Linked DNA regions of Homo sapiens: region 2 is linked to region 1. The links are contacts of gene promoters, found by promoter capture Hi-C in human tissues and cell types (Jung and others, 2019). All regions are on one chromosome and are shown on one strand. The core of a region is centred on a gene start or on the middle of the fragment in contact, and the rest is flanking DNA. Distances in the headings are between cores, read along the strand shown.

Region 1 (4,401 bases), core at 498-2,997:
CCCTAAAAGAATCGAGCTGCAAATTCCTGACAGACCCCTCACAAGCTGCTCAGATGCTCGGGGGTAGGGTTAACTAGAGAATTGGGGGGAAGGGATCCCCTTAAAGAACACCCTGAAGTCCCAAAGTTTAGGCAAGTGAGGTACTTACAGAATTTAAAGACACACCCAAACAGTCATCAAGAGAAAAGGCATGTCAATATTTTTAAACATCAAAATGAATGCAAACAAATTTATGAACAAAATACCAAAGTTTCAAATAAAGACAGGCTCTGGCAAGAGGCCTGAGGTGGGGGCCTTGGAGGCGAGTTCTGCAAGGGCAGGGTTGAATGCAAAGGGTCGCCTGATGCTGTGTTTTCATCACAATCTGGGAGGTATGCAGCTCCTGAATTTCAAGGGGAACCCTGGGGTATTCAGCTGCTCTGGGGGTCCGTGGGCTGGGGCTGGCCTGCTCCAGACCTGGCAGCTGCTGAAAAGCATCAGGGTGGACAGATGACGTTGGAAGCACTCACAAATTCTGCCTTTTGGTTTGACCCAAGCTATTGCTTTTAAGTTTGTAACAGCCTACAGTTCCCCAAAAGACACGTAATACCACGGAACAGGTTTATTTCACCCTGGCCACTATATATCGGCAAAACAACTATATGATGGGAAGCAGTAGTGGATAGCATTTGGATGCTATTCAAATGGTCTGAGATTTATTCAAGGCTCCAAACATCTCTGAGAGAGGACTTGGGGAATATTTGGCCAGCAAATGGCAGAAACATGGCGGTCCACGAGCAAAGCCACCCGATTCAGGCACATCTGTGAAAGAAAAAGGGGACACCACCAGGCAAGTAGGAGGAGCACCGCGTGGCATTTATGGAGATGACTCGTTCACCAGGTTCCCACAGGGCTTTCAGCATGCTGCTGAATTAATCTCCACCCAGGATCTCCGAGACCCGGGGACGCGTCACGTCGTCATTTCCTAGGGGGATCAGGAACTCAGGGGAGCCCGAGTCCTGGAAGGTTCCTGATTGGAAGTCTCGCCAAGCTGGTCAGGCGACTGGACTGGAGGGAAACATCCTCTGGTTTACTGATTTTGTGGATTTGGGCTTTCACAAAGTCATCTTTTCTTCCAAGAACGGCATGGGGTGGGCTGCCTCCCAAGCCATAACATGTGTGGGCTGAGGGGCCCCTACACCCCGCAAGTTTCTTGCACGATCGGGAGGTCTCATCTCAGGCTCCCACCCAGCCGTTTCCTGGGCTGAAGGCCAGGAGGTCCCAGTTAACAATAGGGTTGTCCCAGGCCATGCTTCCGGAGGGGCAGAGACGGCTTCTCTGGGAGGTGGCCCATGCCCCAGGCCTTCAGGACTCCACAGGAGGAAGCTGGGGCTAGGGGCTTCCAGGAGAAGCCAGGGGGCTGAGGCAAGGCCTTCCCAGGAGCAGGGAAGAGTCTGGAGCCCTGGAAGGGGTCAGGCTGGTACGTGGCAGCCAGCCTCGGGGTCCCAGAGCCATGAACAGCTCCCGGTGGCGAGCAGAGCCACTTCTGGGGTAAGTGGAGGGTCTGCTGTCTGCCAGGGCCTAGGTCCCACCTCCATCCTCTGAAGGCCTCCCTGCTCCCTCCACCTTGGCCTCCGACTCCCCCAGCATGGTTGAAGGCCGCTCACCAGCTGAAGGCAAACAGCTTCTCCCGCAAACTGATGAGCAACTCTTTCCCAAACCAGGAAAGAAAATGGCTCCCTTCCCTCGAGGGGCTCCAACTGCCACATAACTTCTGGGAGTCTCCTCACGGTACCTGGGGCTTCTAGAACCTTCCCCTTGGGACCCAAGTAACCAATGATAGCGCAGCAAATGAGGAACCAACCGTCACCCCACAGTGGAAAGGCTCTTAGATGATCATTTTGAGGGGAGGTTGGAGGGGGGACAGGGTCGCGCTCTGTTACCCAGGCTGGAGTGCAGTGGTACAATCATAACTCACTGCAGCCTCAAACTCCTGGGCTTACGTGATCCCCCCCCCTCAGCCTCCTGAGAAGTTAGGACAACAGACGCACATCACCACACCTGGCTAATTTTTGTACTTTTTGTAGAGATGAGGTCTCACTCTGTTGCCCAGGCTGGTCTCAAACTCCTGGCCTCAAGCAATCCTCCCAAAGTGGAAAGGAAGACATTATCTCTGTTTACAATAAGGTGATCTTGTATGTAGAAAATCCCAAGAAATCCATAAAATTGTAGAGCTAATAGAGGAATTCAGCAAGTTTGCAGTATACAAGATATTTGAAAATTAATTATATTTCTCTGTAATTATATTATGAACAATCTGATGATGAAATTTAGAAAACAATTGTCCCCATAATGAACAATCTGATCATGAAATTTAGAAAACAACTCCCATTTACAACAGCATCAAAATAATTTCGTTTACAATAGCGTCAAAAACAACAAAATACTTAGGAATAAACTTTAAAAAGAAGTGTTAAGACTTGTACACTGAAAACTGCAAAACATCATGGAAATAAAGACAACCTAAATCAATGGAAGGACATGCTGTGTTCATGGGTTAGAAGATTGTTAAGACGGGCCAGGCGTGATGGCTCACGCCTGTAATCCCAGCACTTTGGGAGGCCAAGGCGGGTGGATCACGAGGTCAGGAGATCGAGACCATCCTGGCTAACACGGTGAAACCCCATCTCTACTAAAAATACAAAAAAATTAGCCGGGCGTGGTGGTGGGTGCCTGTAGTTCCAGCTACTCAGGAGGCTGAGGCAGGAGAATGGCATGTACCTGGGAGGCGGAGCTTGCAGTGAGCCGAGATCCCGCCATTGCCCTCCAGCCTGGGAGACAGAGTGAGACTCCGTCTCAAAAAAAAAAAAAAAAGAAGATTGTTAAGATGACGACAGTTCTCCTCAAGTTGATCTGCAGATTCAACACAATCCTTATCAAACTCTCAGCTGCCTTTTTTGTAGAAATGACCCTAGATTTTATAGGGAAGTATGAGGGAACAAAAACCATCCAAACAACTTTGAAAAAGAACAAAGTCTGAAGACACACACTTCCTGATTTCAAAACTCACTACAAAGCTACAGTTATCAAGACAGTGCTACCAGCATAACAATAGACAGAGATCACTAGAATAGAATTGAGGTTCCAGAAATAAATGCATCCATTTATGGACGATTGAGTTAGCAAAGGTGCCAAGACAACTCAATGGGAAAAGAATCACCTTTTCAACAAATGGTATTGGAATAACTGAATACCCACATGCGGAAAAACGAAGCTGGGCCCTTACCTCACGCCATCTACACGAATTAACTCAGCATAGATTAACAGAATGCAAGAGCCAAATGTAAGAGCTAAAACTATAAAACTCTTAGAAGAGCACACAGGAGTTGATCTGACCTCAGATGAGGCAATGATGTCTTACATATGATGCCAAAAGCATAAGTGAGCAAAGGAAAAAAGATAAGTTTAACTTCATCAAAACCAAAAACTTTTATGCTTCAAAAGGCACCCTAAAAAAGGGAAAAGATGACCCATAGAATGGGAGAAAATATTTGCAAATCATATATCTGACAAGGGACTTGTCGTAATACAATAAAACAACCTAATTTTAAGGAGTAAAGGATATAGATATTTCTTCAAGAAAGATACACAAATGACCAGTATGCACATGGAAAGCAGCTTGATATCATTAGCCATTAGGAAAATGCAAATCAAAGTAAAATGAACTTCAATGAGGTCCCTAGAGTAGTCAAATTCATTAAGTAGAATGGAGGTTGCCAAGGGCTAGGGAGGGAGAATAGGAATTTATTTTTTAATGGGGCCGTCAGAGGCATTTGAACCAGAGCCACTCCATTTTGAATGGGGTCTGGGTAAAATAAGGCCCTACTGCATTCCCAGGAGGTGAAGGCATTCTTAGTCACAGGGTGAGACGGGGGTTCAGCACAAGTCATAAAGAGCTTGCTGATAAAACAGGTTGCGGTAAAGAAGCTGGCCAAAGCCCACCAAAACCAAGATGACCTCTGGTGGTCCTCACTGCTACACTCCCACCAGCACCGTAACAGTTTGCAAATGCCATGGCAATGTCAGGAAGTTACCCTAGATGGTCTAAAAAGGGGAGGCATGAATAATCCACCCCTTGTTTAGCATATCCTCAAGAAATAACCATAAAAATGGGCAACCAGCAGCCCTCAGGCTGCTCTGCCTATGGAGTTGCCATTCTTTCATTCCTTTACTTTCTTAATAAACTTGTTTCACTTTACTCTATGGACTCACCCTGAATTTCTTCTTGCACGAGATCCAAGAACCCTCTCTTGGGGTCTGGATCTGGACCCCTTTCTGGTAACAGGGTCAGAGTTTCAATTTGGGATAGTGAAGAAGTTCTAGAGATGGATGGTGGTGGTGTTTTTACAACGATGTAAGTGT
Region 2 (4,401 bases), core at 1,048-3,547, 260 kb after region 1:
GCAGGAGGATCGCTGAGCCCAGGTGTTTGAGACCAGCCTGGGCAACACTGCCTAACCAAATCTCTACCCAAAGAATACAAAAAAAAAATTAGCTGGGCATGGTGCTATGAGTCTATAGTGCCAGCTACTTGGGAGGCTAAGGTGGGAGGATTGCTTGGGAGGTGGAGGTTGCAGTCAGCTATGATTACACCACTGGACTCCAGCCTGCGTGACAGAGTGAGAGCTTGTCTCAAAAAAAAAAAAAAAAAAAAGCTTCTTTCAGCCTAATAAAATATCACTCTTAACAGGGTAAATAACAATCTAAGCCAGGTTCTCCAGCAATATATGAGATTAATTTAAGTGGCACATGGACAAATATTTATTCATGTAATTTAGGAAAATATAACTCAAAAGTCAATCCATGACTACACGGACATAGAGAGATTTGGGAAACAAAAGGACAGGACTGAACTGCGTTCCTCCTAGACTATTTACACAGTGTTTCTCTTCTAGCTAAATATTAGCGCCAGAGACAGTCCAGCCTACGGCAGGAGCTGCTGCTCCGTGCCACGTGCACAGTGGACCCTCGTCAGAACAAACACCCCTTAGGATCCTCAACTCTTCAAATGCCATGTGCTAGGAGGGGGAGACCACAGCCAAAGCCCACTTAGGGGTCACTCAGGATCCAGTGGGGTGCAGGAAAAAAAGGCCACAACGTCTCTTCATATGTTCCAAGATAGTAAGATGCACTAATATTTCACAGTGATACTGGCCCATGGGACCGGTATTGGAAGGAAGACCAGGCGTTCCCCTTGAAGGGATGGCCATGGCTGCCTTACTCACACGCTTGCTGCTGACATGCTGCAACAAACTGCAGCTTACCTGTGCCAGGTTACGGGGATTTACAGATATTATCTAGTTTTAACTAAATTAATCCTCACAAAGTTGGCAACTGGCTCAAAAAGATCCTGCAGAGAAACCAAGAATGGAAGGCAGCTCTACAGTGGAAGAGCCCTGACAGGCCTGGGATAGCAGAGTCTTACTGCCAAAACCATGAGACGAAAACAACAGCCATCTAGTCAAATCTTACTGAAAGTCCACCCAGAACCACCTCAAAATTACCAAGGTCACCACTGGAAATAGGGGCTACAATTAGCCATCTCAACAATGTGCTTCTGCAGGGCACGGTGGCTCATGCCTGTAATCTCAGCACTTTCGGAGGCAGAGGCAGGCAGATCACCTGAGGTCGAGAGTTCAAGACCAGCCTGGTCAACATGGTGAAACTTCGTCTCTACTAAAAATACAAAATTAGCCAGGCGTGGTGGCGGGCACCTGCAGTCCCAGCTACTTGGGAGGCTGAGGCAGGAGACTCTCTTGAACACAGGAGGCGGGGGTTGCAGTGAGCCGAGATTGCACCACTGCACTCCAGCCTGGGCGACAGAACGAGACTCCATCTCCAAAAAACGCCCCCAAACAATGTGCTGCTTCATCTCAACAACTATGCCTTGATAATTAACCTTTGCTGCTATGAAGCCATCGCAATTAGCAAGATGTTTACAAACACTTCCCACTGCATGGCCATCTTGTGTTCTTTTTTTTATGTTTTTTTGAGACGGAATCTTGTTCTGTTGCCCAGGCTAAAGTGCAGTGGTGTGATCTCAGCTCAATGCAACCTCTGCCTCCCAGGTTCAAGTGATTCTCCTGCCTCAGCCTCCCAAGTAGCTGGGATTACAGGTGTGAGCCACCGTGCCCAGCCAGTAGCAGTCACTTCTATAGCACTCCCTCTTTGCGGGCTGCTACTCCAGGCACTTGACTCACTCAGAATTTATCGGAGCCTCACGCAACTCTGTAAGGAAGACAGTCTCATTCTTCCATAGACCAGGGACATTCTCAAAAACTCACAGTTACTAAGGGGCAAACTGGGAAGCAAACCCTACAGGCCAGGCTCCTGAGCTGTGTTTTCAACTGCTCTGCTCCCTCCAGAATTCTACTTAGAGATTTTCTGCGATGAAAACATCCTGCATTCCTAGGATAAACATAAGTTGCTTACAGTTTTTTAGAAACTGTGTCATTTGGTAGTATTTTCCTACAATTTTTATATCTATGTTCGTGAAGAAGTTGTGGTTATCCATTTTCTTTCTCGCATTTTCCTTATTATTGTTATCCGAGTTATAGGAACTTTATAGAATGAGCTGGGAAAGATTCTCTCCTCCTCTATTCTTTGGAAGAACGTGTAAAGGATTGGAATTGTTTCTTAAAAGTTACATAGAAATTGGCTGGGCACAGTGGTTCACACCTGTAATCCCAGCACTTTAGGAGGCCAAGGCGGTTGGATCACCTGAGGTCACGAGTTCAAGACCAGCCTGACCAACATGGTAAAACCCCATCTCTACTAAAAATACAAAAATTAGCCAGGCGTGGTGGCGTGCGTCTATAGTCCCAGCTATTTGGGAGGCTGAGACAGGAGAATTGCTTGCACCCAGGAGGCGGAGGTTGCAGTGAACTGAGATCACACCACCGTACTCCAGCCTAGGCAACAGAGTCCGTCTCAAAAAAAAAAAAAAGTTACACAGAAATAACATTGTCTCTGCTTGGGGTTTTTTATGGGAAGATTTTTAACCAATGCTTTAATTTCTTTAATAGTTAAAAGACTCTTCACTTTCTATTTCTTTCAGTTTTGGTAAGTTATATCTTATTTCACCTCTATTTTAATCAAATAGAGCACACCACCACATCCAGCTAATTGTTTCGATTTGTTTTTTGTGTGTGTGAGATGGAGTCTTGCTCTGTCACCCAGGCTGGAGTGCAGCGGCATGATCTTGGTCAGCTCACTGCAACCTCCACCTTCTGGGTTCAAGCAATTCTCCTGCTTCAGCCTCCCGAGCAGCTGGGATTACAGGTGCACCCCATCACGCCTAATTTTTATATTTTTAGTAGAAACCGGGTTTCGCCATGTTGGCCAGGCTGGTCTCCAACTCCTGACCTCAAGTGATCTGCCCACCTCTGCCTCCCACAGGTGTGAGCCACCGTGCCCGGCCTTGATTTGTTTTTGTAGAGATGGGATCTTGCTGTGTTGTCCAGGCTGCACGTTTTATAATACACATAAGATATGCTGATACAACAACAGATGCATAAAACAATTGGGCTAGGCATGGTGGCTCACACTTATAATCCCAGCACTTTGGGAGGCTGAGATGGGAGGATCATGTGAGCCCAGGAGTTCAAGACTACAACGAGTTGTGATGGAGCCACTGCATTCCAGCCTGGGTGTCAGAGCAAGATACTGTCTCTAAAAAAATAATATTTGTATATATATATATATATATATTTTGGAAGTATCTTTTGAAAACGTTTCTGTCTGGGTAATTATTTACAGAAAAGCTTGGCGAACACAGCCCCACCTGACCGATTCACCTTCATGGCCCATTCTGCAGCAGGCATGATTCAAATTTAGGTTTCATCAGTTACTATACATTATGAACTACCCTCCTAAATTTGACCCAGACTGAGAGCAGCAGTGCCACAAGTGCATGGGCTTATCTAATCCAGAGGACCCACAGCCACCCCACTGCTGCAAACCCACACTCACAGCTGCGAGCATGCTCCTTGGAGAGCAGGTAGTTGGCTAGAGGTGGTGTGTAGGTCAAGCACTGGATGGTGGCATTGAGAAAGCAGGTGTTGCCAAGGTTGTGGAGTCCTGCGCCCACGCGGAAGACCCGCTCCCACCTCAGAGACAGTCGCTCCGTGGGGAAAAGCACTTTCTGCGGGGCTGGGACTCCGTCACCACAGCTCTCATACGTGTGCTCACTGCCTGAGGAAGAAAGGGACAAGGGAAGAAAAGAGGAAGACGTAAGTCCACACACAGGTCGTCCACAAAAAGAAACTCCTGAAGCATACACTTAGCATGCAGTGACTCGGAACATGGCACCAGAGAAGAACTGGTGTTCTGGTTTACAGGACATTCCTGGAAAGCTCAGGAGTAAACCCAGCCATCCCACGGACCTCCTAGGCTGCTTGGCTAAAGAATTCAAGGGCCCCTCTATAGATGGAGGACACAGCTCAGAGACTGAGTGGCGGAAGGAGCCAGGCCTGGCACTCTGCACCACACTGTGCCCACATGCAGCCCACCCCATTTCTCTTTCTTAGTTCCAAGCCTGACTTTCGACTGTATTATACTTGGGATAGGGGGACAGCAAGTCCAAGGACCCACCAAGTACACAGATCCACCAAGCACACAGATTTCCTTGCTACCAACCCTGTATCATTACTTCTATAACTGAAATCCACTGACCCCATGTAAAAATTCATAACTCTTTGACCACATTCTCTTGTTTTTCCTACTAATTAGTCAATATTTAAGTCCATCCACTTCGTCACCCCGGAGTGAGGGCCTCTCTGCCAGCACACTGCACATCTGTACCC

The links. The method cuts DNA at HindIII sites, captures the fragments that hold promoters and counts their contacts. A contact is called where the count stands out against the background at its distance.
Region 2: a contact is called between a fragment that was not itself captured here and the fragment with the promoter of DNAH17 in region 1, in 2 of the 25 tissues and cell types used here (lymphoblastoid cells and mesenchymal stem cells).

What each region holds. Positions count from the first base shown.
Region 1 is chr17:78,575,649-78,580,049 of GRCh38, forward strand. DNAH17 (dynein axonemal heavy chain 17) reads right to left here and starts at 1,748. Exons shown (of 81, transcript NM_173628.4): 1 at 1,647-1,748. The HindIII fragment of the contact is 13,821 bases long and covers 1-4,401 here.
Region 2 is chr17:78,831,712-78,836,112 of GRCh38, forward strand. USP36 (ubiquitin specific peptidase 36) reads right to left here. Exons shown (of 21, transcript NM_001385174.1): 3 at 4,400-4,401; 4 at 3,569-3,790. Among named protein-coding and RNA genes, the nearest start is that of USP36, 6.9 kb to the right of the region's middle. The HindIII fragment of the contact is 6,692 bases long and covers 1-4,401 here.